6 separate regions of the Homo sapiens genome follow, and all the other regions are linked to region 1. The links are contacts of gene promoters, found by promoter capture Hi-C in blood cells and fetal thymus (Javierre and others, 2016). All regions are on one chromosome and are shown on one strand. Each heading gives the region's core, a stretch centred on a gene start or on the middle of the fragment in contact. The rest is flanking DNA. Distances are from core to core; before and after follow the strand shown. Region 1 holds the start of NVL (nuclear VCP like). Region 2 has its middle 67 kb from the start of WDR26. Region 3 has its middle 25 kb from the start of FBXO28. Region 4 has its middle 16 kb from the start of DEGS1. Region 5 overlaps FBXO28 (F-box protein 28). Region 6 overlaps DEGS1 (delta 4-desaturase, sphingolipid 1).

What was found. Contacts are between HindIII fragments. The CHiCAGO score rates a contact against its expected background, and 5 or more counts as called.
Region 2: a fragment that was not itself captured here is called in contact with the fragment with the promoter of NVL in region 1 in 1 of 17 cell types (erythroblasts); the score reaches 6.0 in erythroblasts.
Region 3: a contact is called between a fragment that was not itself captured here and the fragment with the promoter of NVL in region 1, in 4 of 17 cell types (neutrophils, naive B cells, total B cells and 1 more). The highest score is 7.3, in neutrophils.
Region 4: a fragment that was not itself captured here is called in contact with the fragment with the promoter of NVL in region 1 in 13 of 17 cell types (naive B cells, naive CD8 T cells, total B cells and 10 more); the score reaches 13.6 in naive B cells.
Region 5: a contact is called between a fragment that was not itself captured here and the fragment with the promoter of NVL in region 1, in 8 of 17 cell types (naive B cells, total B cells, total CD4 T cells and 5 more). The highest score is 9.5, in naive B cells.
Region 6: a contact is called between a fragment that was not itself captured here and the fragment with the promoter of NVL in region 1, in 2 of 17 cell types (total CD4 T cells and naive B cells). The highest score is 5.1, in total CD4 T cells.

The regions. Positions count from the first base shown.
Region 1 is chr1:224,327,087-224,331,954 of GRCh38, reverse strand. NVL (nuclear VCP like) reads left to right here and starts at 1,783. Exons shown (of 23, transcript NM_002533.4): 1 at 1,783-1,884. The coding sequence starts at 1,828. RefSeq lists enhancers at 1,566-1,715, 1,736-1,785, 1,976-2,025, 2,076-2,215. The HindIII fragment of the contact is 14,633 bases long and covers 1-4,868 here.
Region 2 is chr1:224,499,403-224,503,884 of GRCh38, reverse strand. It overlaps a transcript of CNIH3 not described here. Among named protein-coding and RNA genes, the nearest start is that of WDR26, 67 kb to the right of the region's middle. RefSeq lists enhancers at 2,642-3,142, 3,143-3,643. The HindIII fragment of the contact is 3,572 bases long and covers 1,100-4,482 here.
Region 3 is chr1:224,086,242-224,091,250 of GRCh38, reverse strand. No RefSeq gene overlaps it. Among named protein-coding and RNA genes, the nearest start is that of FBXO28, 25 kb to the left of the region's middle. The HindIII fragment of the contact is 8,369 bases long and covers 1-5,009 here.
Region 4 is chr1:224,165,091-224,169,472 of GRCh38, reverse strand. No RefSeq gene overlaps it. Among named protein-coding and RNA genes, the nearest start is that of DEGS1, 16 kb to the left of the region's middle. RefSeq lists an enhancer at 1-352. The HindIII fragment of the contact is 4,891 bases long and covers 1-4,382 here.
Region 5 is chr1:224,146,771-224,151,649 of GRCh38, reverse strand. All of the region lies in intron 3 of FBXO28 (F-box protein 28), which reads right to left. Among named protein-coding and RNA genes, the nearest start is that of DEGS1, 34 kb to the left of the region's middle. The HindIII fragment of the contact is 2,532 bases long and covers 1,113-3,644 here.
Region 6 is chr1:224,192,578-224,197,708 of GRCh38, reverse strand. It overlaps DEGS1 (delta 4-desaturase, sphingolipid 1), which reads right to left. Exons shown (of 3, transcript NM_003676.4): 3 at 4,268-5,131. Among named protein-coding and RNA genes, the nearest start is that of DEGS1, 12 kb to the right of the region's middle. RefSeq lists an enhancer at 1,718-1,787 and a silencer at 5,081-5,131. The HindIII fragment of the contact is 3,553 bases long and covers 1,404-4,956 here.

The DNA.
Region 1 (4,868 bases), core at 534-3,033:
ATTCAGCCTTAAAAGTGAAGGAAAGGCCAGGTGCGGTGGCTTATACCTGTAATCCCAGCACTTTGGGAGGCCAAGGCAGGTGGATCACCTCAGGTCAGGAGTTGGAGATCAGCCTGGCCAACATGGCAAAACGCCATTTCTACTAAAAATACAAAAAATTAGCCGGGTGTGGTGGTACACACCTGTAGTCCCAACTACTTGGGAGGCTGAGGTGGTAGAATCTCTTGAACCCAGGAGGCGAAGGTTGCAGTGAGCTGAGATTGCGCCACTGCACTCCAGCCTGGGCAACAGAGCAAGACTCTGTATCAAAAAAAAAAAAAAAAAAAAAAGAAAAGAAAGAAGGAAATTCTAACACATGCTATATGAGGGCATTAAGCTAAGAAACAAGCCAGTCACAAAAGTCAAATACTGGAAGATTCCACTTATATGAGGAAGTTAGTGTAGTCAAAATCATAAAGACAGTAAGTAGAATGGTAGTTGCCAGGGGCTGGGGGGAGGGAGGAATGGGGAGTTATTTTTTAATTAGTATAGAGTTTTAGTTGTACAAGATGAAAAGAGTTCTGGAACTAGATGGCAGTGATGGTTGCATATTATGAATGTATTATCACTAAACTGCACACTTTAAAATGTTTAAGATGGTGAATGTTCTTATATTTTACAACTAAAAAAATAAAAAATAAAACTACACATAGTGAAGAAGTAGGAAATGAAGTTGCAACCAAACGGATCAATATTTTGAGTGGGAAATCTAATACTTAATTCAGTGCTAATTTTTATATTTTTAGTAGAGACAAGGTTTCACCATGTTGGCCAGGCTGGTCGTGAACTCCTGACCTCAAGTGATCTGCCCGCCTCGGCCTCCCAAAGTGCTGGGATTACAGGTGTGAGCCACCGTGCCCGGCCTCACGCCCTTCTCTTAATTCCATTTTCTCTCCCCTCTGCCCCTTAATACACTGCACTTAACCTTGTCATAAGCCAAGGAGGACCTGAAATAAGAATACTCAAAACACGGTTGAAATAAACAAGAAGACAGAAACTAAAGCCAGCATTTTTTTTTTAATGCTTGGTAACTGTCCCTTTGTGTCTCCCTAAGTGCAGGATAAACTTCTTGGGGCAAATACAAACGTTTGATAAAATTCTGGGCCAAGGAGTCCTGCACTGGATATATTCAACAAATTACCTGCCGATGATAACAGCGTAAGTCAAACGAGTTCTAAAAGTAACAAATGACTTAGTTATCTGGATAAATCCGTCCTTCCTTTTCTTTTTCACCTAGCCCTTTTGTCGGGCCTCTAAAATGTAAGATAACTACGTGGGAAAGCAAGCAGCGGCTGGTGGTGTGTTTTTACCCTGATTTTATCACTCCAAGTATCTACCGTGGCTGGTTTTGCGAAGACTAGCTTTGTATCAGAATGAGGTGTGGCTGGAACGCCTGAGGAAAGCAAACCAAGTTTTCCAGAGGACGCCGTTGACAGCGTCTCCGCACACCGCGCCGGGGTAGGAACTTCCTCCCACCTGGTTCGCCCGGCGGGGAACCAATAAAGTTGAGCGCGTTCAAAGGGGTCCTAATCTTCCAGGGTCCACTGGGCAGGCCTGCAAAATAAGGCCCCTAGAAACTCCCTGAGGTTTTCAAGTCTTCTCCCTCTCCTCGGAATTTTTTCCCCTTCATTCGCATTACTTTTATTCTGACGGAAACGGCGCGGGCTAGGCCCCAGGAGGGGCGCATTTCAGGTGCAACTGGCCCGGCGATCGCGGCGGGCAACCCCTACGAGGCCCCCGGTTGACTAGGAGCTGGCGGTCCGAGCTGTGGCTTGGAAGACCGACGCGATGAAGCCCAGACCTGCAGGGTTCGTGGATAATAAACTCAAGCAGCGAGTCATCCAGGTGTGTATTCTGCACCGCTTGGCCTCGCCAAGGGCCCCGATCGCTGCCCCAGGGTGCCACTCCCCTTTTGTCGGGTGGCATCCAGGTGGAACTCAACTAGTCTTCTTTCCCCAGTCTGGGTCTGGGCGTGCGTCTGTTTCTCCTTAGTTGGTGCTGCCGGGGCCTTCCCTACCCACGTTGGTGCGGAGTCTCAGGGAGAAGCCGGGGATGGTGGGAGGGTGCAGCTTGGTAGGGCTGCCCAAGTTGTCTGGTCGTCTTCAGCGCAGATCATTCAGTAGAGTGGAGGTAGCCTTTGAATTTTAACCTCTTTGGCTTGTGAAGTTAGCACAGGAATGGTCTTCAAACGCTCGCATTGTAAGAGGTCCTTGAGAAGGGGTGGCATAAATAATATGTTAATTTCCGTTCTCAAGGAACTTACACACTAAAACGAGATAACATGGGTCTGGCAACAGTAACAGGCACTTTGCCTACGGTTTTCTCATTTTCATGACCATCAGTAAAAAGCAGTGTGTGGCAAATACCTCAGAATGTAAGCAAGCAGTCTGAGTTAAAAGGTGGGAGAGAATTTTCTTCACTTAGGAATTTGTGAGCTACACATTCTCCTTGTTTTTCTTTCACTTCACCAGCCCCTAAACAATCTCCTTTTCGGACCCATCTTTTCCTACCAACTTGTAAATGTTGGAAGTGCTCTGTGCCACTGTTCTCTTACCTCCCCTTCCTCCTCTTTCCTCATACACCTTTCTTATCTATCCATACTTCCTATGTGATCTCATTTAGTGTAATAACCTTTGAGTAGTATCTACATACTCTATTATCTATGTATTTATTTCATTTTATTTTTATTTTTCTGAGACATAGTCTCGCTCTGTTGCCCAGGCTAGAGTGCAGTGGCTGTTTATGGGCACAATCATAACTCACTGCACCCTCGGCCTCCCTGACTCAAGTGATCCTCCCTCCTCAGCCTCCCCAGTAGCTGGGACTACAGGTGTGCACCACCACACCTGGCTAATTTATTATTATTATTATTATTTGTAGAGACGGGGTTCCACTATGTTACTCTGGCTGGTCTCTAACTCCTGGGCTCAAGCGATCGGGCCTCAGCCTCCCAAAGTGCTGGGATTACCGGTGCAAGCTGCTGCACTGGCCTCTGTATATTTATGACTGCTAACTTTATATCTCCAGTCCAGATTTTATCTTGAAGTACAGATTGATATATCCAGCTGCCTAGTCAGCATATCTCCAAATTAAAATGGCCAAGTGGAATTTGTGATTTTTTTCTTCCTTCAAATCTGCCCTTTCTTAGTGTTCTGTATCTCAGTAAATGATACTACCGTTCGTCCTGTTGTTAAGGCCAAAAACCTTAAGGATCATTCTGAGTCTTTCATTTCCTGTATACCATCTGTCAACAGCCTGGTTGGCTTTACTTTCAAAATATATTCCAAGTACTTCTTACTGTCTTTCCCTGTAACCATCTTAGTCCAAACCATCATCTCTACCTTATACTATTACAATAGCCTCCTAACTGATCTCTCTGATTCTGCTTTTACCTAAAGCCTATTCCCCACAGAGCAGCCAGAGACATCTAATTTTTTTTTTTTTTTCTGCTCACTGCAACCTCTGCCTCCTGGGTTCAAGTGATTCTCCTGCCTCAGCCTCCCGAGTACGTGGGATTACAAGTGCATGCCATCACGCCTGGCTACTTTTTGTATTTTTAGTAGGGATGGGATTTCACCATGTTGGCCAGGCTAGTCTCGAACTCCTGACCTCAGGTGATCTGCCCGCCTCAGCCTCCCAAAGTGCTGGGATTACAGGCGTGGCCAAGACATCCTTTTAAAGGGAAAAATCGGGCTAGGGGAGGGATAGCATTAGGAAAAATACCTAATGTAGATGACGGGTTGATGGGTGCAGGAAACCACCATGGCACCTGTATACCTATGTAACAAACCCGCATGTTCTGCACATGTATCCCAGAACTTAAAGTATAACTAAAAAAAAGGGGGGGGAAATCAGAGCTTGCCATAGCCCTGCTCAAAACCTTTCAGTGGAGTCACAGACATCTAGAGTAAAACCCAGTCTGAAAAGCCCTGCATATTCTGGCCTCTGTTGTCCTAGTTTACTTTTCCTCTCCTGTCCCAGCCACACAGACCTTCTCAAACATGCCAAGCACAGGACCTTTGTTCTCGTTGTTCAGTCACTCTGAATTACTCTTCCTCTGGATGTTCCCGCGTCCCACAACTTGCTCCTTCACTTTATTGAGGTTTCTGAGCAGTGACTCCTAATTACTGGATCTAGTGGCCTCTTCTCTGTCCTCACACTTGACTCTTTTCAGCGTTTGACATTATCAGTTTTCCTCTATAGCTTTCACTTTGGTTCATTATAAAAGTACAAATGAATATCCCTTATTCTAAATGCTTAAGACCAAAAAATGTTTCAGATTGATTTTTTTCAGGTTTTGGAATGTTTGCATATACATAATGAGATATTTGGGGATGGGACCCAAGTTAAACATGAAGTTTATTTATGTTTCATATACACCTTACACACATAGCCTGAAGATAGTCTTACACAATATTTTAAATAAATTTTCACTTAGCTATATATTTAATTTAATTTTAATTTTTTATTTTTGAGACTGGGTCTAGCTCTGTCACCCAGGCTGGAGTGCAGTGGTGTGAACACTGCTCACTGCCATCTCAAACTCGTGGGGTCAAGTGATTCTCCCACCTCAGCCTCCCATGTAGCTGGGACCACAGGTATGCACCACCATGTCTGGCTAATTTTAAAATTTTTTGTAGAGATGAGATCTTACCACCTTGCCCAGGCTGGTCTCGAACACCTGGACTGAAGCAATCCTCCCGCCTTGGCCTCTCAAAGTGCTGGGATTACGGGTGTGAGCCACCACGCCCGGGCTTATTTATGTATTTATTTTTGAGATAAGGTCTCGTTCTGTTATCCAGGCTGGAGTGCAGTGGCTCGATCATAGC
Region 2 (4,482 bases), core at 1,636-4,135, 170 kb before region 1:
GGCCTCAGAGCCTGTGGTTGCTGTGGCCTACAGCACAGCGTGCCCGAGCCTGCAGGGCTGGGCCTGTTATTCCACAGTAGTTGGCACTCCCACGGCAATCCCTGCCAGAGGGCTGGGTCGGGTTTCCTGTCTATCTCCCTTGCCACAGCTGTGTTTTCAATAGGGAAGTCGCCTGCTGCCTCTCCTGGGGGAGGACCACACTCCACCTCCCCTTGCTAAACACCAGGCAGCCCTGTGCGGTTGCCAGGGTTGTGTGAGGATAAGATTAGGAGGGGACCCGCCCCTGTGCAGGCCTGAGCAGCTGGACAACCGCCCATGAGACACGGGCTTCCCCGAGGCCCAGGCTGTCACCTCGGCTCTGGGAGGCCCGGTGGGGTTGCAGACAGCAGCGACAGCCCTCCTCCTGCAGGGGAGCCACCTGGCTGTTTCAGAGTGAGAGTCCAGGCTGCCTGTGGGGTCAAAACAGGAGGAAGAAGGAAATAAGAGGGGGGAGGGTGACAGAGACAAGAGGAACAAAGACAGAAGCAAGGGAGGAAAAGACAGAGAGGAATTAGGGCCAAAAGACCGACAAGGGAAGGAGATGTGGAACACTCTGCGGTCCTGGCTTTCAGCAAGTGCAGCACCCGTGCCTCAGGCTCTCCCTAGCTGATAGGAATTTTAATTACACACAATTAAATTGTATATGACATTTAGTACATTGTGTTCTAAATAGTGTATTGGATTTGAATACAAACTAAAGGCCATCTTCTTTCTCATCCTCCTCCCAAAAAGGTGGTGACTTCATCCGTGCAGAAGTCTCCCAGGTTTCCTCCGCCCCTGCCCCCACCTCCCTCCCTCCCTCCCTCCCCGGGAGAGCTGTTTGCCTTCCTTCTGCCCTTCTGGGGTTGGCACCCAGCTGTTTCTTCCCTCCTCCTCCTCCCTCACCCTCCAAAGCTCCGATCCCATCACCTTAGCCTGTGTTCTACCCCCTGTCAACTCACAGGCTTTCAACATCTCACCCTTCCCTCCACCTTTTATGTCTCTGGGCTCTGTTCCCCACCATTCATATGGTGTTTAAATCCACGGCTTCCTTTCAGTGGTTAGAGAAGGGATAAAAGCTTCCCTTTATGTTTGCCAGTGTTTAAATTGCTTCTGAAAACACCCAGCGGTGAAAACTATGAAAAGGGGACAGTCTTTTCAGCTGATTGTTTATGTAGAACTCGGCAGGGAATGTAAGCAGGGGGGTTGCTCAGTAATTACTGGACTCCATTCCCCTGGCACGGGCCCCGCCCTCCCTAACTCTAGAGGTGGAATGGCAATCCACCTCCCCACGCTGCAGGTTACACTGGTGCAAGAGTGCCTAGACCAGGAGGAAGGCTGTTCGTTCTGCTCATGCAAGCCAGGAGGCTCTGGAAACAGGCAAAGTGGGTTTAGCGATAAAGAAATAGGCCAGCCTCCAAATAAAAGGCTTTCGGCTCTTGCTCCATGGCTGTGCCTTTCAGGAGAGCTGGGCTTTCGGCTCCAAAGGCTGCCCTTCTCCTCTTTCCTCCATGCTGTCCACATGGAGTCTCTATCACGAGATACTTCTGCTGACCAGCTACGTTCACAGAGATCATTTCTGGCTGCAATCTCACTCACACCACTTATTTTATCCCAGTAGATGTTTGTTTCGGCCCCTAATTTCCATTCCCTTGGGCCAGTAAAGTGACTTGATTCCCTCTGTTTCTGAGGACCCCAAGAAAACCAGGGCTTCACTCTCCGGGAGCCGTATCTGCAGCACTCCTGGGTTCTGCCCACAAGTGGTATCCTCAGGGAAGACCCCTCTGGGCAAACCATTCTGAACAAGGCCCAGAGGATCCTCTGCTCACCTGCCCTCCCCACATTCTTCAGCACCTCCCTCCAGTTGCTCATGAAGCCTCCAGGTCCTCTGCCCCTCCACCCTACCTTCCTCCAGCCTCCTCACCACAGAATCATCTCCAACAGGGACCCCTCTTCCAGGAAAGTAGCTGGTCACAAACAAATTTCTGTATAAAGCAGTGGCTCACGCCTGTAATCCTAGCACTTTGGGAGGCCGAGGCAGGTGGATTGCCTGAGCTCAGGAGTTTGAGACCAGCCTGGGCAACACAGTAAAACCCCGTCTCTACTAAAATACAAAAAATTAGCTGGGCGTGGTGGCACGCACCTGTAATCCCAGCTACTCCAGAGGCTGAGACAGGAAAATCGCTTGAACCTGGGAGACGGAGGTTGTAGTGAGCCGAGATCGCGCCACTGCACTCCAGCCTGGGCGACAGAGCGAGATTCCATCTCCAAAAAAAAAAAAAATTCTGTATAAAACATTATCATGATTAAGAACATGAACTCTGGGGTTAAAAAAAAAAAATATATATATATATATATATAGGTTCAAGCCTATGCTGCTGTCTGCTGAGCATGTGACCTTGGGCAATTCGCTTATATCACTCTAAGCTCCAGGACCCTCATCTGTAAACTGGATACAATAATAATAGTATCTGCCTCATGGTGCTGTTGTCAAGATTAAATGAGATTAAATAAAATTATGAGAAGAATTCTTTACAAAGTGCCTTTCACCCAGTAAGCTCTCAATAATGATAGTATTATTGCCCATGACCATTTATTCAACACTCTTAAACCCCTACAATGAACAAAGTATGACTCCGCCTACCTCAAGTGTCTTTCTGTTCAATATAGGAGTCAAATATACAAACAAGTGGACATAAAACAAAGCAGAATTAGTAAATGCACATGAGATAGAAACATGATATGCTTTAGAGAGTAGAGAGATGAAAAAAAAGATTACTGTTTCCAGAACAGAAGAGGCACAGCAGCAGAGGTGGCCCACGAGCAAGGCTTTGAAGCATAAGCAGGGCTCTGATCAGTGGAAGCAGATGGTAGGTTCCAGGAAGTGGCAGAAGGGGAGGCATGGAGATGTGATGGTGCAGGGTGTGTGGAATGCACAGATGCCGGCTGCTTCCTCGGGTTCCAGCCCCCCTTCTTCCATCCTAGCAGCCTCATTGTCCACTTAGGCATCCACTGCATTGTGGGGAGTCTTGAGGTCAAGGGAAATCGTGCAGCAGGTAGCCACTCAGCACATCCCAGCCCACTGGCGACTGGGGTTGGTGCAGGGGCAGATGTACGTCAGAAACAAGTCTACTCAGATTAAAGATCAGTCATGAATGCTGGGGAAAAGTCATTCTTTTTTTTTTTTCTTTGCTTTTTTGTCTCACTCTGTCGCCCAGCAGGTTGGAGTGCAGTGGCACAATCTCGCCTCACTGCAACCTCCGCCCCCTGAGTTCAAGCCATCCTCCCTCCTCAGCCTCCCAAGCAGCTGGGACCACAGATGCATGCCACCAAGCCTGACTAAGTTTTTGTATTTTTGGTAGAGATAGAGTTTCGTCATGTTGGCCAGGCTGGTTTCCAACTCCTGAGTTCAAGCTATCTGCCTGCCTCGGCCTCCCAAAGTGCTGGGATTACAGGCATGAACTGTTGCACCAGCCAAGTCATTCTTTCTTTAGAGACATGAGATGAAGGCTGCTGGCAACCATTTTGGGACCATGAGAATTAGGAAGAAATTGTGGCCAGGCACAGTGGCTCAGTTTGTAATCACAGCACTTTGGGAGGCTGAGGTGGGAGGATGACTTGAGACCAGGAGTTCAAGAGACCAGTCTGAGCAACATAAGGAGACACTATCTCTATAAAAAAAAAAAATTGTTTTAATTAGTCAGGCTTGATGGTGCAGGCCTGTAGTCCCAGCTACTAAGGAGGCTGAGGTGGGAGGATCACTTGAGCCCAGGAGGTCAAGGCTACAGTGAGCCATGATTGTGCCACTACACTTCAGCCTAGGAGACACAGTAAGATCCTGTCTCAAAAAGAAAAAAGAAAAAAGAAAGAAAGGAATTAGATCCTTGGGGAATTGTTGAGCCTTACCCAAAGCCCCACTCTGACACTAGATTTCTTTTTCTTTTCTTTTTTCTTTTTTTTTTTTTGGTAGAGATAGGATGTCGCTATGTTGCCCAGGCTGGTCTTGAACTCCTGGCCTCAAGCGATCCTCCTGCCTCAGCCTCCCAAAGTGCTGGGATTACAGGTGTGAGCCACAGTGCCCAGTCAGCTGACTCTAGACTTCTTTTGTCCCAGAAGCAAATAACGGCGTGTATTGTATAAGGCAGTTGAGCTATGCTTTTCAGTTTCTTGATGTTCAAAAAATGACCCGAAATAGAGAGTTATAAAAAATTGAAACTAGAAAGGTATTAGAGGGTTAAATCATGAAAGGCTTTCCTTGCCCCATTCTAAGGCATTAGACTTTATGCAGGCAGTAGGAAATCCCATTGAAAACTGTTGAGGAGGGAGGTGGCACATCAAATCTGTTTTAGGAAATTGATGGCAGGATGAAAGATAGACTGGAAGGGAGAGGGATTAGAAGCAAACCAACAAAAACAACGATTGATTAGTCATGAGTCTCGGCTGGTAAAGGACATTTTATCAAAT
Region 3 (5,009 bases), core at 1,285-3,784, 240 kb after region 1:
AAGCATCTTTGATGGATTGAATGTGGTAGATGAGGTAAGGAGAGGAATCAAGGATGATTTCCAGTCTTTTGAGCACGAAGGTGAAGGATGAGTCCTTTAAATGGGAAAAAGAGACTAAAGGAGGCACAGGTTTCAGCACAATGAGAATAATCAAAAGTTACATTTTATTTTTATTTTTTATTTTTTTGAGACAGAGTCTCACTCTGTTACCCAGGGTGGGTGCAGTGGCAGTATCTCAGCTCACTGCAACCTCCGCCACCCGGGTTCAAGTGATTCTCTTTCTCTTGCCTCAGCCTCCTGAGTAGCTGGGACTACAGGTGTCCACCACCACGCCTGGGGAATTTTTGTATTTTTAGTAGAGACAGGGTTTCACCATATTGGTCAGGCTGGTCTCTAACTCCTGACCTCAGGTGATCTGCCCTCCTTGATCTCCCAAAGTGCTGGGATTACAGGTGTGAGCCAGCACGCCCAGCCAAGAGTTACATTTTAGTCAGGCCAATTTTAAAATATTCATGGTCAGGACTTGAAAGGAAAGAAAAATGGACTCATTAATTCATTTAGCAAAAATGTGTTGATCATCTTTAATATGCCAGGTATTGCTCTAGGCTCTTGGGATACAGCAGCAAACAAAACATACAAAATACATTCTAGTTAGGGGAGAGAAAAAACACATACAATCTGTAAGACAAGTTAAATGAAGAAAGATAAAGCAGGACTGAGGGATAGAGAGAGAGAAGGAATGCTATTATATGGGCCAGTCAGTGATGGCTTCTCTGATGAGGCCTCGGGATATCTGGGAGGATGTCAATGTTATTGAAGGCAAAGGCACAAGTCAAAGGTCCTGAGGCGGAAGTGTGCTTGGTGTGTTTGAAAAACAGCATAGAGGGCAGTGAGCCTAGTGAGCATAGAGAATTGTAATGAGAAGCGTAGAGGTGTGTGCGTTGAGGGTGGGAGAGAATATGTGAATGTGAGGGAGAGGGTTGGGGACAGATCACGTAGGTTCTTTTGCAGGCCATGTAAGCACTCTGGAATTTGTACTGAATTAGAAAGGAAACTATGGGGGGTGTTGAGCACAGGAGTCATGTGAGCAAAAATATTACAAATGGACCACTCTGGTCATGGCAGGGAGAATAGTGGAGAAGCCAGGAGGCTATGAAAGCGGGAGACCAGTTCAGAGTTTCCTGCATCAGTGAGAGGACAGTGGCTTGCACCAGGATGGAAGAGGGAAAAGTACTAAGAAGAGATCAGAGTCTGGGTGTCCTTCAAATGTAAATGAAAATAAAGAAAATGTAGATTAAATAGACAGAGCAGTCAAAGATGACTCCAAGATCTAAATAAATGAAAGAATGGAGTTGACATTTCCTGAGATGGGGAAGACTTGAGGAGCAGGTTTAGGGCAAGGGTTCTCTTTTGAACATGTTGTGGTTCCTTTTAAAATCAACTTAACAGATGGGCGTGGTGTCGTGTGCCTGTAGTCCCAGCTACTCAGGAGGGTGAGGCTGGAGGATTGATTGAGCCCAGGTGTTCAAGTTCACCTTGGGCAACATAGTCTTAAAAAAACCTTAATAATGGTACAATTTGCATATAATAAAGTGTACACACTTATTGGTACAGTTTGATGAATAATAAATATATATCCTCATACAACCACCGCCATACTCAAGATATAGGACATTTTCATTACCCCGAAAGGTTTCCTTTTGCCCCTTTCCAATCAGTTTCCATTTCCCACAGCCCCTGCCCCAAGCAACCACTGATATTCACTCCATCACCATAGATTAGATTTATTTGTGCTAGAGTTTTGTTAAATGGAATTATAGGCTTGGGGGAAAGGAAGATGAGTTAGACACAGCCCACTGGCTGGTACAATGTTTCCCAACTTTTTTTTTTTTTTTTTTTTGAGATGGAGTCTCTGTCACCCAGGCTGGAGTGCGGTGGCATGATCTTGGCTCACTGCAACTTCTGCCTTCCAGGTTTAAGCGATTCTCCTGCCTCAGCCTACTGAGTAGCTGGGATTACAGGCGCCCGCCACTATGCCTGGCTAATTTTTGTATTTTTAGTAGAGACGGGCTATCACCATGTTGGTCAGGCTGGTCTTGAACTCCTGACCTCGTGATCTTCCTGCCTTGGCCTCCCAAAGTGCTGGGATTACAGGTGTGAGCCACCATGCCCGGCCAATTTTCTAAACTTTTAAGTCCATGTCTTCTTTTATACCTTCTTCATTATCCTTTTTTTTGAGACAGGGTTGCACTCTGTCACCTGTGGTGTCAGAGGCTGGAGTGCAGTGTTGTGATCATAGCTCACTGCAGCCTCAAACTCATGGGCTCAAGCAAACCTCCTGCCTCAGCCTCTGGAGTAGGTGGGACTACAGGTGCACACCACCAAGCCCAGCTAACTTAAAATTTGTTTTTGTGGAAATGAGGTCTTGTGATATTGCTCAAGCTGATCTTGAACTCCTGGGCTCGACTGATCCTCCTGCCTTGGCCTCTCAAAGTGTTTGTGAGCCACTGTGCATGGCCCCTGTTATCTTTCATAATCATAGATATCTCAGGTCCTGTCCTGAGGTGCTGAGTGTATCCACAGAGAGGCACACCCTCATTTCCCCTGCTTTCTTATGACTCTGAGAATCATTGTTTCTTTGTATTCTCAGCAGCCAAGATTGTTTTTTGCAAATGTTACTTGTAGAAATTTTTACAGGGCTAGGTATGGTGGCTCACACCTTTCCCAGCATTTTGGGAGGCCAAGATGGGCAGATTACTTGAACTCAGGAATTTGAGACCAGCCTGACCAACCTGGCAAAACCCTGTCTCTACTGAAAATACAAAAATTAGCCGGGTGTGGTGGTGCACACCTGTAATCTCAGCTACTCGGGAGACTGAGGGAGGAGAATTGCTTGAACCCGGGAGGTGGAGGTTGCAGTGACCCAAGATCGTGCCACTGCACTCCAGCCTGGTCCACAGAGGGAGACTCCCTCCATCTAAAAAAAAAAAAGAAAAAAAAAAAGGAAAAGAGGAAGAAGTTTTTACAATGAAGATATGCATTTTTCCTTTAACCAATATAAATAATAGTATAACATTATAATGTGATTTCAATTTACATAGTCCACTTCTCCAGGTTCTGAGAAGTCCCCTTCATGGTTAGTTCTTTCCTTTGAGACTCACTTGTCTTTTTTTTTTTTGAAACAGTGTCTCACTCCATTTGCCCAGGTGGGAATGCAGTGGCATGATCTCAGCTCACTGTAGCCTTGACCTCCTGGGCTCAGGTGATTCTCCCACCTCAGCCTCCTGAGTAGCTGGGACTACAGGCACATGCCACTATACCTGGCTAATTTTTTGTGTTTTTAGTAGAGATAGGGTTTCACCATGTTGCCAGGCTGGTCTTCTGAGCTCAAGGAATCTGCCCTCCTCGGCCTCCCAAAGTGCTGGAATTACAGGCATGAACCACCGCGCCCGGCCTTCACTTGTCTATTCTAATAATCACATGAAATTAGACAGCCATAAGCATTGATCTGCTAAAGGACATTCTGGGAAGTTGTGCTGTGTTTTGCCTTATCCTGCCCCACTTTAAATGCTTGGTCTTTTATGCATGCCATTTAAAGATCACAGACCAAAGCAATTACTCATGTCTCTGTTTTATAACCTTTGGCTTCCTGAATTATTTTTAATAGTTCTTCCATAATCATACAATAGGTGCATTTATAAGGCCATTTGAATCTAGGAAATAATGAGCATTCAAATAGGCGAGCCAGAGACTTCAAATAGCTACGTGTGGCAGGACATTTTCCTGCTGGGCTGTGGAGGGTGGTTTCAGAGGATTTAGATTTCACAGCAAAGAATAAGTATCATATTGCAACTTCAAAATAAGAAGCTGTAAGTGTTTGAATCTAGTGTGTCTGAATAGCATATTTACAATTTGACTAGGGCCAGATGCAATTATGCCTGTAATCCAGCACTTTGGGAGGTCAGGGAGGGAGGATCACTTGAAGCCAAGGAGTTGAGGCAGACTGGGCAACACAGTGAGAACCATACCTCTACAAAAAATAAAAACATTAGCCAGCTGTGGTGGCACACACCTGTAGTCTCATCTACTTGAGAGGATAATGCGGGAGGATCACTTGAGGCTGGGAGTTCAAGGCTGTAGTGAGCTATGATGACACCATTGCACTCCAGTCTGTGCAATAGAGTGAGACCCTGTCTGTTTTCTTTTTTTTTGAGGTGTGTTATATATAAAGTTTCGGTGCCACAAAAGGAATAACACTCGAGTATAAAATTTTCTTTTTAATTCTCAGCAAGGCAAGGTACTTCTATATAGAAGGGTGCACCCTTATAGATGGAACAATGGTGAGCACACACTTGGACAAGGGAGGGGAAGGGGTTCTTATCCCTGACACATGTGGCCCCTGCTGCTGTGTCGTTCCCCTATTGGCTAGGGTTAGACCACACAGGCTAAACTAATTCCGATTGGCTAATTTAAAGAGAATGACGGGGTGAGTGCTTTGGCAGGAGTCAGGGCAGAGCAGGTAGCAGGTAATTGGAATGAGTTAGGGTGGAGCAGGTGATTGGAATGAGTCAGGGTGGAGTAGGTAATCGGAAGGAGTCAGGGTGGAGGGTAATCGAAAAAGGTTGCTTTACGAGGAAGTTAAGTTTAAAAGTAGAAGGCAAAGAATTGAACATACTGACATATTAATTATTTGAAAAGAAATTTAGAACTCATATCTAACAAGGTGGAGTCTCGCTCTGTCGCCCAGGCTGGAGTGCAGTGGCATGATCTCTGCTCGCTGCAACCTCTGCCTCCCAGGTTCAAGCAATTCTTCTGTCTCAGCCTCCCGAGTGGCTGAGACTACAGGCATGCGGCACCACACCTGGCTAAGTTTGTATTTTTAGTAGAGACAGCGTTTCTCCATGTTGGTCAGGCTAGTCTCGAACTCCCAACCTCAGGTGATCCGCCCAGACCTTCCAAAGTGCTGGGATTACAGGCGTGAGCTTTGGAAGGTCGAGGCGGGTGGATCA
Region 4 (4,382 bases), core at 1,126-3,625, 160 kb after region 1:
AATTTGTTAGTGACCAGGAGAGTCTACAAGGCTCTGGGATCTGCCTGAGATTCCTTCTGGGATCAGGGCAGAACAATGCAACAGGACAGTCTAAAAGAGCAGTTACTGAGAAGAAATGAATCTGCTTCCATTTGCACCCTTCCAAGTCTAGCTCATGCAAAAGCAGTTGTACTCAGATGACTATTTTACTCACCAGCAGCCACAGCTTATGAAAAAGGAAATTGACAAAGGAAGAGGGTGAAGGGGCATAGGCAAGAAGAAAAGTCTTGAACTAGTGAGCACTGAAATCAAAACCGCAGGCTTATGGTTAGAGAAATTTCCCCCATTTCATGTATGAGGAAGCGAATACTTCCAGAATGTGAGTGACGTGTCTTAGATCACACAGCTTAGAGTGCAGCAGAGGCTAAAAAGGGACAAAGGTTGTCTGGTTCCAAATCCCAAATAGAAGATGGACTCGATCCAGAGGTGACTCATGGTGGGGAAGGCAGGGGTCCAGGATCCAGGAAAACACCATGAACTGATAGAGCAGTTCTGCAGGATGAAGTAGCTTTTTCTATCTGTGTGAAGCCAACAATATGAATGAGTGGAGAAAAGAGCGCATAGCTTTCATTCTTCCAGAGTCTGAGTTTTGCAGGGGATTGACTGGGATTGAGAATACATTTGCAAGATATTTTGTTTTTCTTCCCAGGCTTTTGGTTTTTAAGAAAACAGTCTGGCCAGGCACAGTAGCTCACGCCTATAATCCCAGCACTTTGGGAGGCCAAAGCGGATGGATCACAAGGTCAAGAGTTCGAAACCAGCCTGGCCAACATGGTGAAAACCCGTCTCTACTAAGAATACAAAAATTAGGCTGGGCGTGGTGGCTCACCCCTGTAATCCCAGCACTTTGGGAGGCTGAGGTGGGTGGATCACCTGAGGTCGGGAGTTTGAGACCAACCTGAGCAACATGGAGAAACCTCATCTCTACTAAAAATACAAAATTAGCCAGGTATGGTGGCGCATGCCTGTAATCCCAGCTACTCGGGAGGCTGAGGTGGGAGAATCGCTTGAACTCGGGAGGTAGAGGTTGCAGTGAGCCCAGATCGTGCCATTGCACTCCCGCCTGGGTGACAGAGACTCCGTCTCAAAAAAAAAAAAAAAAAATTCTGGAGCCTGGGAAGTCCAAGATCAAGGCACTGGCATATTCAGTATCTGGTGAGGGGCTGCTTCCTTGTTCGTGGATGGCCGTCTTCTGGCTATAACCTCACATGGCAGAAGAGGTGAAGGAGTTTTCTGAGGTCCCTTTTATTTAATTAATTAATTAATTAATTAATTTTTTTGAGATGGAGTCTCGCTCTGTCACCCAGGCTGGAGTGCAATGGTATGATCTCAGCTCACTGCAACCTCTGCTTCCTGGGTTCAAGAAATTCTCCTGCCTCAGCCTCCCAAGTAACTGGGACTACAGGTGCACCCCACCATGCCTGGCTAATTTTTGTATTTTTAGTAGAGATGGGGTTTCACATGTTGGCCAGGGTGGTCTCAAACTGCTGACCTCAGGTGACCCGCCTGCTTCGGCTTCCCAAAGTGCTGGGATTACAGGCGTGAGCCACCGCACCCAGCCTGGTGTCTCTTTTAAAAGAACACTAACCCCATTCATGAAGACTTCACCCTCATGAACATAATCACCTCCCCAAAGCCCAACCTCCTAGTCTCCTCCCCTTGAGGATTAGGCTTCAAGGCATACATTTTGCGGGGACACAAACTTTCAGTCTATAGCAGCTGGTTTAATTGTTGAATACACTTCCATGGTTTAAAAATAGAAAAACATGGCCGGGCGCGGTGGCTCACACCTGTAATCCCAGCACTTTGGGAGGCCGAGGCAGGCGGATCACGTGGTCAGGAGATCGCGACCATCCTGGCTAACATGGTAAAACCGTGTCTCTACTAAAAATACAAAAAATTAGCCGGGTGTAGCGGCGGGCGCCTGTAGTCCCAGCTACTCGGGAGGCTGAGGCAGGAGAATGGCGTGAACCCCGAGGGGCGGAGCTTGCAGTGAGCCGAGATCGCGCCACTGCACTCCAGCCTGGGCGACAGCGCGAGACTCCGTCTCAAAAAAAAAATAGAAAAACATACAGGTGTCTAGTGATAAGCTCCTCCCAGCTCCTGTTCCTGTTGTTATGTTGTCAAACCCCAAAATATAACCACTGTTATTGATTCCCTGTGCATTTTTCTAGAATTTTTTTTTCTTTTCTTTTCTTTCTTTTTTTTTGACATGGAATCTCACTCTTTCTCCCAGCCTGGAGTGCAGTGGTGTAATCTCAGCTCACTGCAACCTCTGACTCCCAGATTCAAGTGATCCTCCTGCCTCAGCCTCCTGAGTATCTGGGACTACAGGCACAGACCACCATGCCTGCCTAATTTTTGTATTTTTAGTAGAGGTGGGATTTCGCCATGTTGGCCAGGCTGGTCTCAAACTCCTGACCTCAAGTGATCTGCCCCCCTCAGCCTCCCAAAGTGCTGGGATTACAGGCATGATCCACCGTGCCCGGCCTAGAGTTTCTTTATGCATATGCATGCCACTACTTAGCAGTACAGTCATGAACTGCTTAAAGATGGGGATGTGCTCTCAGAAATGCATCAAGTGATTTTGTTGTATGAATATAATAGAGTTTACTTACACAAACCTAGATGGTTTAGCCTACTATATACACCTAGGCTATATGGTACAGCCTATTGATGCTAGACTACAAAACTGTATGGCATGTTACTGTTCTGAATACTGTAGGCACTTGTAGCACAGTGGTATTTGTGTATCTAAACACATAAACATAGAAAAGAAGCAGTAAAAATATGGTAGTATAATCTTATGGGACTGTCATAAAATATGCTGCTGCTTGTTGACTGAAATGTGGTTATTCAGCATGACTCTATATTATTTCCCTCTTTATTTTTCACAAAAGTTAGTATACTGTAATATTGTTCTGTATTTTGTTATTTCCCTTAGCAGTCTTGGAAATACATATATATTTTTTTCTTTTAGAGACAGAGTCTCACTCTGTCTCCCAGGCTGGGGTGCAGTGGCACAATCTCAGCTCACTGCAACCTCCACCTCCTGGGTTCAAGTGATTCTCCTGCCTCAGCCTCCTGAGTAGCTGAGATTACAGACACACGCCACCATGCCTGGCTACTTTTTGGATTTTTTAGTAGAGACAGGGTTTCACCACACTGGCCAGGCTGGCCTCAAACTCCTGACCTCAGGTGACCCACCCACCTCGGTCTCCCAGAGTGCTGGGATTACAGGCATGAGCCACCACGCTGGCCTTTTTTTTTTTTTTTTCATTTTGAGACGTAGTCTCGCTCTGTCTCCCAGGCTGGAGTGCAGTGGCATGATCTCAGCTCACTGCAACCTTTGCCTCCCGGGTTCAAGCGATTCTCCTGCCTCAGCCTCCCGAGTAGCTGGAATTACAGGTACCTACCACCATGCCCAGCTACTTTTAGTATTTTTAGTAGAGATGGGGTTTCACCATGTTGGCCAGGCTGGTCTTGAACTCCTGACCTCAAGTGATCTGCCCACCTTGGCCTCCCAAAGTGCTGGGATTACAGGCATGGGCCACCATGCCCGGCCAGAAATATTTCTTAGCATATAGATAATTTTCTTATTTTTACTGGTGCCTAGTATTCTATTGTAAGGATATATCCCAATTTATGAACCCTGTCTCCTATTGATGGATATTTTATTATTATTTTTTGAGACAGGGTCTTACTGTCACTCAGGCTGAGTGCAGTGGCAGCTCGCTGCAGCCTTGACCTCCTGGGCTCAAGCGATCCTCCTTTCTCAGCCTCCCAAGTAGTTGGGACTACAGGTGTATGCCACCAAGCCTGGCTAATTTTTTTTTTTTTAATTTTTAAATTTAAAATTTTTGTTTTTGGTAGAGACGAAGTCTTGGTATGTTGCCCAGGCTGGTCGTGAACTCCTAGATGCAAGCGATCCTCCCACCCTGGCCTCCCAAAGTGTATTTTTAAAAATAATTTCTTTATTCTCAAATGATAGTGACTGGATTGATACTGGTGGGAATTGTAATATAAATTTCCTGGCCGGGCACGGTGGCTCAAGCCTGTAATCCCAGCACTTTGGGAGGCAGAGGCGGGCGGAACACGAGGTCAGGAGATCAAGACCATCCTGGCTAACGTGGTGAAACCCCATCTCTACTAAAAATACAAAAAATTAGCCAGGCGAGGTGGTGGGCGCCTGTAGTCCCAGCTACTCGGGAGGCTGAGGCAGGAGAATGGCGTGAACCTGGGAGGCGGAGCTTGCAGTGAGCTGAAATCGCGCCACTGCACTCCAGCCTGGGCGACAGAGGGAGACTCCGTCTCAAAAAAAAAAAAAAAAAAAAAAAGACACC
Region 5 (4,879 bases), core at 1,129-3,628, 180 kb after region 1:
CCTGGCATCCCACATATTCCTCCCACTGCATTTATCTAGCTTGCTCCCAACTCTGGATCAATCTTATAATCCATCTTCCCTTCTCCTTTACTTATTTAGGCTGCTGAGCACAGCCAGAGAAACAATCTTGCAGAATCGTATCAGGACAAATTCACAGCCCTTCACATTTTCTAGACTCTCAGCATAATATGATGATCATTGTTAATGGAGCATGATGTATGCTTAATAAATGTCAGCAAAATCTAACCTTAGGATGTATCCTTATCATAAGCCTGAGAAGACATCATAGGAGAGGCCAGGTTTGTGGGCTTGGAGAACTGAACAGGAAATGGCTTGGGCTGAGGTGGTGTACGTAGGCAGATGCAATGGGAGATGAGATGTGTGATTTTGAATCACATGGGACATGTAGGTGATATTTGCTAGCAGGTGGCTTGAGATACAGGATGGGAGTTCAGGAGAGGAATTTTGGATGATGGCTGATTGCCAAAGGAGAAAACATATTTATTTCTGGCAATATTACTATATTACGAGCTCACTTTAGAAGAAGATAACCCCTTTCCCCAATAAAAACTTACTGAACTACTATGTTAGGAACTATATATACAAAGAAATGAAAAATGGAGTACTTTCCCTTGGACTTACAATTTAATTACGTAAGCCTATCATAACTTGTAAGATAAACATTATTCAAGTATTGAGTTCTTACTATGTACTTGTCACTTTTCAAAGTACTGGAGTAAAAAACAGTAAATAAGGATGACAAGATTATCATTCTCATGAAGCTAAACAGGAAAATAATTTAAAGGAGTGCCACATGGAAAAAAGAGGGTAATGTGACAGTTTCTATCAGGAAAGGCAGGAATAACATGAGATGGGTGGTTGGGAAAGGATTCTTTGCCATTTGTAAGGTAAGACTGAAGGATGAGGAAGAACTGATCAATTGAAGATATGGGGAGAAAAGTCTTTCAGGTAGAAATAGTAATGATAGTGGCCCCAAGGTCAGTGTCAGCTTGGCTTGTTCAAGGAGTTCAAGGACTAGAAATAGACAAATTTTATATATACATGTATATCTCCAAAGAGTAAATATTTGTGGAAGCTAGCTACTCAAAGCTTAAAAGTTATATAATATTTATACATAATCAAGAAATAGTTAATAAAATTAAAAATATAAACCAAAGTAGAAAATCAGTATTTAAAGGGTCCTTCATACTGACTGATATTTTATGTATAGTGCTAGGATATTAATTGACCCATAGTAGTTTTGTGTTTATCAACGTTTTACATATGGGTTATATATAGGAAAAGTACCACAGTACTCCATAATTTTTTCAGACGGAGCTTCGCTCTTGTTGCCCAGGCTGGAAATGACATGGTATTGGTTCACTGTAACCTCCACCTCCTGGGTTCAAGCAATTCTCCTGCCTCAGCCTCCCAAGTAGCTGGGATTACAGGCACCCACCACCAAGCCTGGCTAATTTTTGTATTTTTAGTAGAGACAGGGTTTCACCATGTTGGCCAGGCTGGTCTCAAACTCCTGACCTCAGGTGATCTGCCTGCCTTGGCCTCCCAAAGTGCTGGGATTACAGGCATAAGCCACTGCACCTGGCCTTCCATAATTTTTAAATGTTGTCCCCAAAGGCTAATATGTTGCATCTATAGATACAAACTGGCCATCAGCCCTTTGAACTAAATCAAGTTCCCCACCTTTTTGCCCCAGGGCTTTTGCACATGCTGATCCCTTTCCTGGAATGCCATCCCTGTGTATCTCCCTCACTTCAAATTCCTTAGTTATACACGAGGTCACAGTAACACTGTACTTTCTCAGAAGTCTTTTCTGAACCCTCCTCCAATTTAAATCATGTTAACATCTTCATCCAACCCTTTATTCCCCTTCAGAACACACATTACAATTTGTAAGTACATCTTTTTGTTAATTTCTATCTTCCATATAATGTAGTAAACTCTATGACAGAAGAGATCATACCATGTTTCACTGTCAGATCCCCAGAGCCTAGCAGCATCTGGCACATGGCAGATACTCAGTAAATAAGGGGTAAAGATGGTTAAGTATATTAATTGTTTAACATTAATTGATACATCTAAACAAAACTGTTTAAGGGCAAATGAAAGGGTTAATTCAACACAAGAATTTGTTTTTTGGCTGGGCGTGGTGGCTCATACCTACGGTGCCAGCACTTTGGGAGGCCGAGGTGGGAAGACTGTCTAGGGACAGGAGTTTGAGACCAGCCTGGGCAACACTGTGAGCTCTGTCTCTACAAAAAATTAAAAAATTAGCTGTGCGCATGCCTATAGTCCCATGAGCTGTGATCAGTCCAGGTGATGGGGCAAGACTGTCTCAAAAAAAAAAAAAAAAAGATTATATGGTTTTTCAGAAGTCAGATGATTATGTTTTGAACACAAAGGTCATTGTAAACAAGATCTCTATTGAGACGGACTTGTAAAAATATAGAATACTTAAAATAGTACTTATATGTTTAATAAAATACCCACAGCCTTATTAATATACCTCTAGATATTATATGTTTATAAATACTGGTAGACAGAAGAATATTTATAGTGTATTTGGGCTAGAATAGGACTGTTGTAATGGTATAGGCATAAGACACAGATCCTATCCAGTGAAACATGACTCCATGAAAGACCCATAAACAGCAAAGCAAAACTCAGACTGTAATAAGTTCAATGTATAAGCAAAGTGCTGTGTGAAAACAGAGTAGAGATTAAGATCCAGTTGAGAGAACTGGGTAGGTCTAATGAAGGACATTAGTAAGTAAATTTCAACAGGTAAGGGAAGTTAGAGCAGGAGGAAGGTACACCTGGCTAAACAGTGTGGAGTTGAGCACAGGGATGATGTGGATGGATAGGTGATAGGATAGCAATTCAACATTTATACAGTAGTTATGCAGTACTATCATGTACCAAGCATTTATTCTAGGGTGTTTCTTTTCTTTTTTTTTTTCTTTTTTTGAGACGGAGTCTTGCTCTGTCGCCCAGGCTGGAGTGCGGTGGTGCGATCTTGGCTCACTGCAAGCTCTGCCTCCCAGGTTCACGACATTCTCCTGCCTCAGCCTCCCGAGTAGCTGGGACTACAGGCACCCGCCACCACACCTGGCGAATTTTTTTCTCTTTTTTTTGTATTTTTAGTAGAGACAGGGTTTCACCGTGTTAGGCAGGATGGTCTTGATCTCCTGACCTCATGATCCGCCTGCCTCGGCCTCCCAAAGAGCTGGGATTGCAGGCGTGAGCCACCGTGCCTGGCCGTTTCTTAACATATATTATACAATTAGTCTTTTTCCATGATACTTATTCTTCAGAATAACTTTCATTATCAAAATATCCTACAGGGATTGCTAACTGACAGTAAATTATTAGATCGGTTCCAAAGTAACTGTGGTTTTGCCATTAAAAGTAATGTGAAAATACATCTACAATTTGTGAAATATTATCTTTACTGTAGTCTTCTAAATGTAGTGTAAAAGCAAGTTCACTCTTTCCATTTGCCCCAGTCTTCCATTAAAAAAGAACATTTAAAAATCTTACTGTATAGAGATTATTTTAGTCAAATGGGATAATCTATGTTTTCAATAAAATTCAAAATAGTTTCTTTTCTTTGTCCAAAAGCTTTAAGCAGAGGATAAGGTGAAGGAAAGTATGTGTGTGAGAACCATACTGCTTCTACCATTCAGAGTTTTAAGTGGCTGCCATGGCTTTAGAGGTATATATTAAGAAAGCAAGGTATTTAACAAATTTTCAAAACAGTTCATTTTCTGAGTAGATTTAATCTTTTTTTTTTTTTTTTTTTGCAAATTACATTAACGAGAATGTAATGGTATGAGTTTTGAGGTCTAGTGGAAAGACCACAGGCCTTAGGAAGGTCACTTAAACTCTTAATGGCTGTTTCTACACCTTTCAAATGATATACCACATGTTGAACCTTACCCAGGCTGTAAGAAGTAAAATAGTCAGTCCCTCCGCATCCTCAGGGGTTTGGGTCCAGGACCACATTGTCAAAATGTGTGTGTGCTCAAGTCCTTTATATAAAATGGCATAGTATTTGCATATAACCTAGATCACCTCTAGATTACCTACACTACCTAATACCATGTCAAAGCTTTGTAAATAGTAGTTACATTGTACTATTTTAAAATTCATATTTTAAAAACAGCTGTGGTTTTAAAAATTGTTTTTCTTCTCTTTTTTTTTTTTTTGACACAGTCTCGCTCTGTTGCCCAGGCTGGAGTGCAGTGGCATGATCTCGGCTCACTGCAACCTCTGCCTCCGGGGTTCAAGTGATTCTCCTGCCTCAGCCTCCCGAGTAGCTGGGACTACAGGCGCTTGCCACCACGCCCAGCTAATTTTTGTATTTTTAGTAGAGATGCGGGTTCACCATATTGGTCAGGCTGGTCTTGAACTCTTGACCTTGTGATCCGCCTGCCTCGGCCTGCCAAAGTGCTGGGATTATAGGCGTGAGCCACCGCATCCGGCAATTGTTTTTCTTCTCTAAATATACATATATATTTTTTGACAGAGTCTCACTAAATATTTTCTATCCACGGTTGGTTGAATCCATGAATGTGGAACCCACGAATACAGAGCTGACTACAGGTTATAAAAAATATTTTTGGCCAGGCACGGTGGCTCACGCCTGTAATCCCAGCACTTTGGGAGGCCAAGGAGGGCGGATTACGAGGTCAGGAGTTCGAGACCAGCCTGGCCAATATGGTGAAACCCTGTCTCTACTAAAAATACAAAAATTAGCCATGCATGGTGGCACGTGCCTATAGTCCCAGCTACTCGGGAGGCTGAGGCAGAAGAATCGCTTGAACCTGGGAGGCAGAGGTTGCAGCAAACCCAGATC
Region 6 (5,131 bases), core at 1,931-4,430, 140 kb after region 1:
TAATAATAATAATGTTCTTGGATTTCAAGGGCACAGTTTTTCAGAGCCTTCCTAGCCCTAGGTCATCAAACTGTTCTTGCTTCCTTCCAAATGGCTAAGGCTTCTAGAAGATTTTCCTAACAAGAAATACATGAACTTGTCCAAAGAGCTTCCAAGAGGAATAGCATAAAGCATTGGCTTTAACACACATAGCTTCAGGCCCTGGCCCATGTTGTGTGACCTCAGGCTAGTTACTTGCCTAACCCTGTTTCTTCCTGTGAAAAGTGTGGGAGACAATACCTACCTTCCCAGGCTGCCGTGGATTAGCACAATATTTGCACGTACAGCCTGGCAGAGCACTCACCCTGATCAGCGATAGCAATGTGTGCCCTCTACTCAGTCCCAGCCACATCCTAATTCTCCTGTTTTAAGTCCTTTCTTTCTTAACATGTACCTCCCAGCACTAGAGCATTAGCTCCTTAATTTGGGGCAACATTTTGTCTTTGTATCCTCACTGCCTAGTGCAAGCCTGCCAAAAGCATCTGTAGAATGAATAAATGAATACATAAATGCATTTTTTGCATGGATTTAAACATTAATGTTTCATATTTGAATTTTAGATTCAAGAGTTGGAAAAAAACAGAGACCTAGCCAAAATGCTGGCATACAGGAAATGGTTAATGAGGCAGTAGAGTATGTATGTAGTAATAGGAACATGTGTTTTTCATTCTCATTACTGTTTCAGGACGAGGCTCATAATGTAAGCCAAATGGAATATGGTTAAGGCTTTTGGGTCTGGAGTCCACAGAGTCTGCATTTCAGGTTCAGTTTCTGCAGTTTACTAAGTGTGACCTTCGGCCAGTTACTTAATCTCTCTAAGCCTTTTCTGTCATCTACAAAATGAAGATATTAATAGTACTGCTTATAGCATATAAATGTTGAGACTTAAATACAATAAATTGTGGTTCATACCTGTAATCCCAGCACTTTGGGAGGCCGAGGTGGTTGGATCACTTGAGCTCAGGAGTTTGAGACCAGCCTGGGCAACATAGCGAAACCCCATCTCTACAAAAAATACAAAAATTAGCTAGGTGTGGTGGTGTACACCTGTAGTCAGTCCCAGCTTCTTGGGAGGCTGATGTGGGAGGATTGCTTGACCCTGGGAGGCGGAGGTTGCAGTGAGCTGAGATTGCAACACTGCACTCCAGCCTGGGCCACAGAGCAAGACTCTGTCTCAAAAAAAAAAAAAAAAAAAAAGGAACAACAACAAAAAAGTACAATAGTTCATGTAAAACACTTGGTACAGGACTCAGTGAAAAGTAAGGATTCTCATTGAATGTCCATTATTTGTAGCATAAAATACTTTTACCTAAAGATTATACAAGTGCCCTGTCTTTGGCTGTGTTTTTGTTTTAGAAAAAGCTTCTCAAGTTCAAGGACTCTCCCTGCTGGTCTCTCTCCATTTATCAAGCACTTACTTTAAGTCAAACACCCTGCTAGGTTTGGGAAACAGAAATAAAAGATGTGTCCTGCTCTTAAGGAGTTACAACTTATGGAGAAACAGTGCCTATTTACACAATGGTATGATTAGGGCCATGAAGAGATAATCATTGGTTCTCAAAGTCAAAAAAATTGACACCTGACCTGCTGGGGACTGGGGGTGGGTAACAGAAGGCTGCTGTGAGCCTTGAAGGTGTGAAACTTTGAACCAGAAGAGAAACGGAGAAAGGAGTTTACAACAGAAGGGAGAACTCATGCAAAGCTACTGAGTGATTTCTTAGGACTGTCTGAGACGGGATCTCGCTCTGTCACCGAGGCTGGAGTGTAATGGCGTGCAATTTCAGTTCACTGCAACCTCCGCCTCCTGGGTTCAAGAAGCGAAACTCCAGCCGTGGGCGGTGGCTCAGGCCTGTAATCCCAGCACTTTGGGAGGCCAAGGCGGGCGGATCACGAGGTCAGGAGATTGAGACCATCCTGGCTAACACGGTGAAACCCCGTCTCTACTAAAAATACAAATTAGCCGGGCGTGGTGGTGGTCGCCTGTAGTCCCAGCTACTCGGGAGGCTGAGGCAGGAGAATGGCGTGAACGCGGGAGGCGGAGCTTGCAGTGAGCCAGATCGAGCCACTGCACTCCAGCCTGGGCGACAGAGCAGGACTCCATCTCAAAAAAAAAAGAAAAAAAGAAGCGAAACTCCTACCTCAGCCTCCTGAGTAGCTTAGGACCACAGATGCACACAACACCAGGCCCGGATAATTTTGTTTGGAGTTATTCTTTAGAGGTTATGGGGCCCAGCCTTCTTACTGCCCAGATTGGTAGCTCTCTTAAAGAATGGATCGAGTTGGCAGATGGGAGCCAGAATAATCGGGATGCCTGCTACGAAGACTGAAACTTCCATTCAGGAAAGAAGTGGTTATGTAAGTGGAGACTGGAGTTTTGGAGAGGGATGACAACCCACTCTGTGCATCCAGCAGGTAGTGAGAGGTCTGAAGTGATAGATTTGGAGGTTTTCAGCATTTACATGGCAGCTGCAGCCATTGGCTAAAGTTCTTTTGGTTGTTGTTTTTTTTTTTTGAGACGTAGTCTCACTTTGTCGCCCCGGCTGGAGTGCAGTGGCTCGATCTCGGCTGACTGCAAGCTCCGCCTCCTGGGTTCCCGCCATTCTCCTGCCTCAGCCTCCCAAGTAGCTGGGACTACAGGCGCCGGCCACTACGCCTGGCTAATTTTTTGTATTTTTTACTAGAGATGGGGTTTCACCGTATTGGCCAGGATGGTCTTGATCTCCTGACCTCGTGATCCGCCCACCTCGGCCTCCCAAAGTGCTGGGATTACAGGCGTGAGGCACCGCGCCTGGCCTTTTTTTTTTTTTTGGAGACGTTGTCTTGCTCTGTCGCCCAGACTGGAGTGCAGGGCGTGATCTCGGCTCACGCAACCTTTGCCTCCTGGGTTCAAGCGATTCTCCTGCCTCAGCTTCCCGAGTAGCCAGGACTACAGGCACATGCCACCATGCCCAGATAATTTTGTATTTTTTTTAGTAGAGACAGGGTTTCACCATATTGGTCAGGCTAGTCTTGAACTCCTAACCTCGTGATCCACCTGCCTCAGCCTCCCAAAGTACTGGTATTACAGCCACCACGCCCGGTGCCATTGGCCAGAGTTCTATAGACTTGATGGGAGTACATGATCTCTATGATCTAGCATCAAATCCAGGGGTATGTTTTGCAGATACTTTAGTGACTGAGTAAAATCTGAATTGTAAACTTGGTTCTATTGTCACTCTTTGATTGTTCTTTGAGTAACAGATTAGAAGATACTAGGAATTTTCCTAGGCAAGGGGGTCAGGAAGGGAAAGCAAAGTATTTTGGGGATGAAATGAGGTCTGTGAGACAGGCCTGGCAGTCCCACAGAGGATTCTACTCCTCACCCCGCCCTCAGCATTCTGGGTGTTGTTTTATTCTTTACGAAACTGCAATGTAGCCAACTTTTTTTTTTTTTTAGAGGGTGTTTGTCACCCAAGCTGGAGCGTAGTAGTGCGATCATGGCTCATTGTAGTCTCAATCTCAGCCTCCCAAGTAGCTGGGACTACAGGTGCACACCACCACACCACTCTTATTTTTTGAAAAGATGGGGGCCAGACACAGCGGCTCATGCCTGTAATCCCAGAACTTTGGGAGGCCAAGGCAGGCAGATCACCTGAGATCAGGAGTTTGAGACCAGCCTGGCCAACATAGTGAAAACCTGTCTCTACTAAAAATACAAAAAAAAAAAAAAAAAAAAAAAAATTAGCTGGGCATGGCTGTGCACGCCTGTGATCCCAGTTACTCAGGAAGCTGAGGCAGGAAAGTCGCTTGAACCCAGGAGGCAGAGGTTGTGGTGAGGCAAGATTGCGCCACTGCACTCCAGCCTGGACAACAGAGCAAGACTCCATTTCAAAAAATAAAAAATAAAAAAAGATGGGGTCTCACTATGTTGCCCAGGCTGGTCTCAAACTCCTGGTCTCAAGCGATCCTCCTGCCTCAGCTTTCCGAAGCATGGAATTACAGGTGTGAACCACCACACCCAGCTGCTGATGTATTTTTAAAATAATTCACCATATTACACTAAACGTATCCAAGTGACATATTTGAGGTAAGCAAGACTGCTGACATAACAACAGCCCATGCTACCAGCTACTTGAGACCAACGATCTACCATCAGACCACAGCCAGTTCCCACTGCAGTGAAATAACATGAAAGTCTTTATCAGTTGAGCAGTTTCTAATGTGAGAGTCAACACACCTGAAAAATGAATTTGAATGGTGGAAATTCAGTAAGTACTTTATTTATGAGTAAGGCTGTACAGGATTCAGCAGTGTCTAATTCGGGTCCCATATAGAAGTTAAAATTTTTAAATGAGTAATTCAGCTTACAGGGAAATATATTTTCATCTCAATCTTTTATGCTATATCATACCTCAGGCTTTTTAAAAATTATTTTTGAGATGAAATTTTAAAGTTCCCCCGGTACCCAAGTTACCATATTATATAGTATAAAGATAGTGAAATACAAAAATGTAACAAATACTAATACACTGTGATTAATAGCTGTTTATTAGCTTTTTAATAAAGCAAAACTTTATAGTGAAATAAACTAGAAATAGCTTTTTATTTTTTATATATATTTATTTATTTTTGAGATGGGGTCTTGCTCTGTTGCCCAGGGTGGAGTGCAGTGGCACAATCTTGGGTCACTGCAGCCTCTGCCTCCGCCTCCTGGGTTCAAGCAATTCTCCCACCTCAGCCTCCCATGTAGCTGGGATTACAGGCATGTGCCGCCACGCCCGGCTAATTTTTGCATTTTTAGTAGAGATGGGGTTTCACCGTGTTGGCCAGGCTGGTCTCGAACTCCTGACCTCAGGTGATCCACCCACCTTGGCCTCCCAAAGTGCTGGGATTATAGGCATGAGCCACCGTGCCTGGCGAAATAGCTTTTTAGAAGCTTTTTAAATGATATGCTTATAAAATGACAGACATGAGTGAAACATCCTCAATGACGATAATACACAAGTCACAAGTTTCCTGTGAGTGAAACTGAGCAGTACAGAGTCAGGCTGACTGTTTAAAAGCCAGATTCACTTCTTGGTATCACCGAGCTCTTACTCTGAAATTGTGCCAG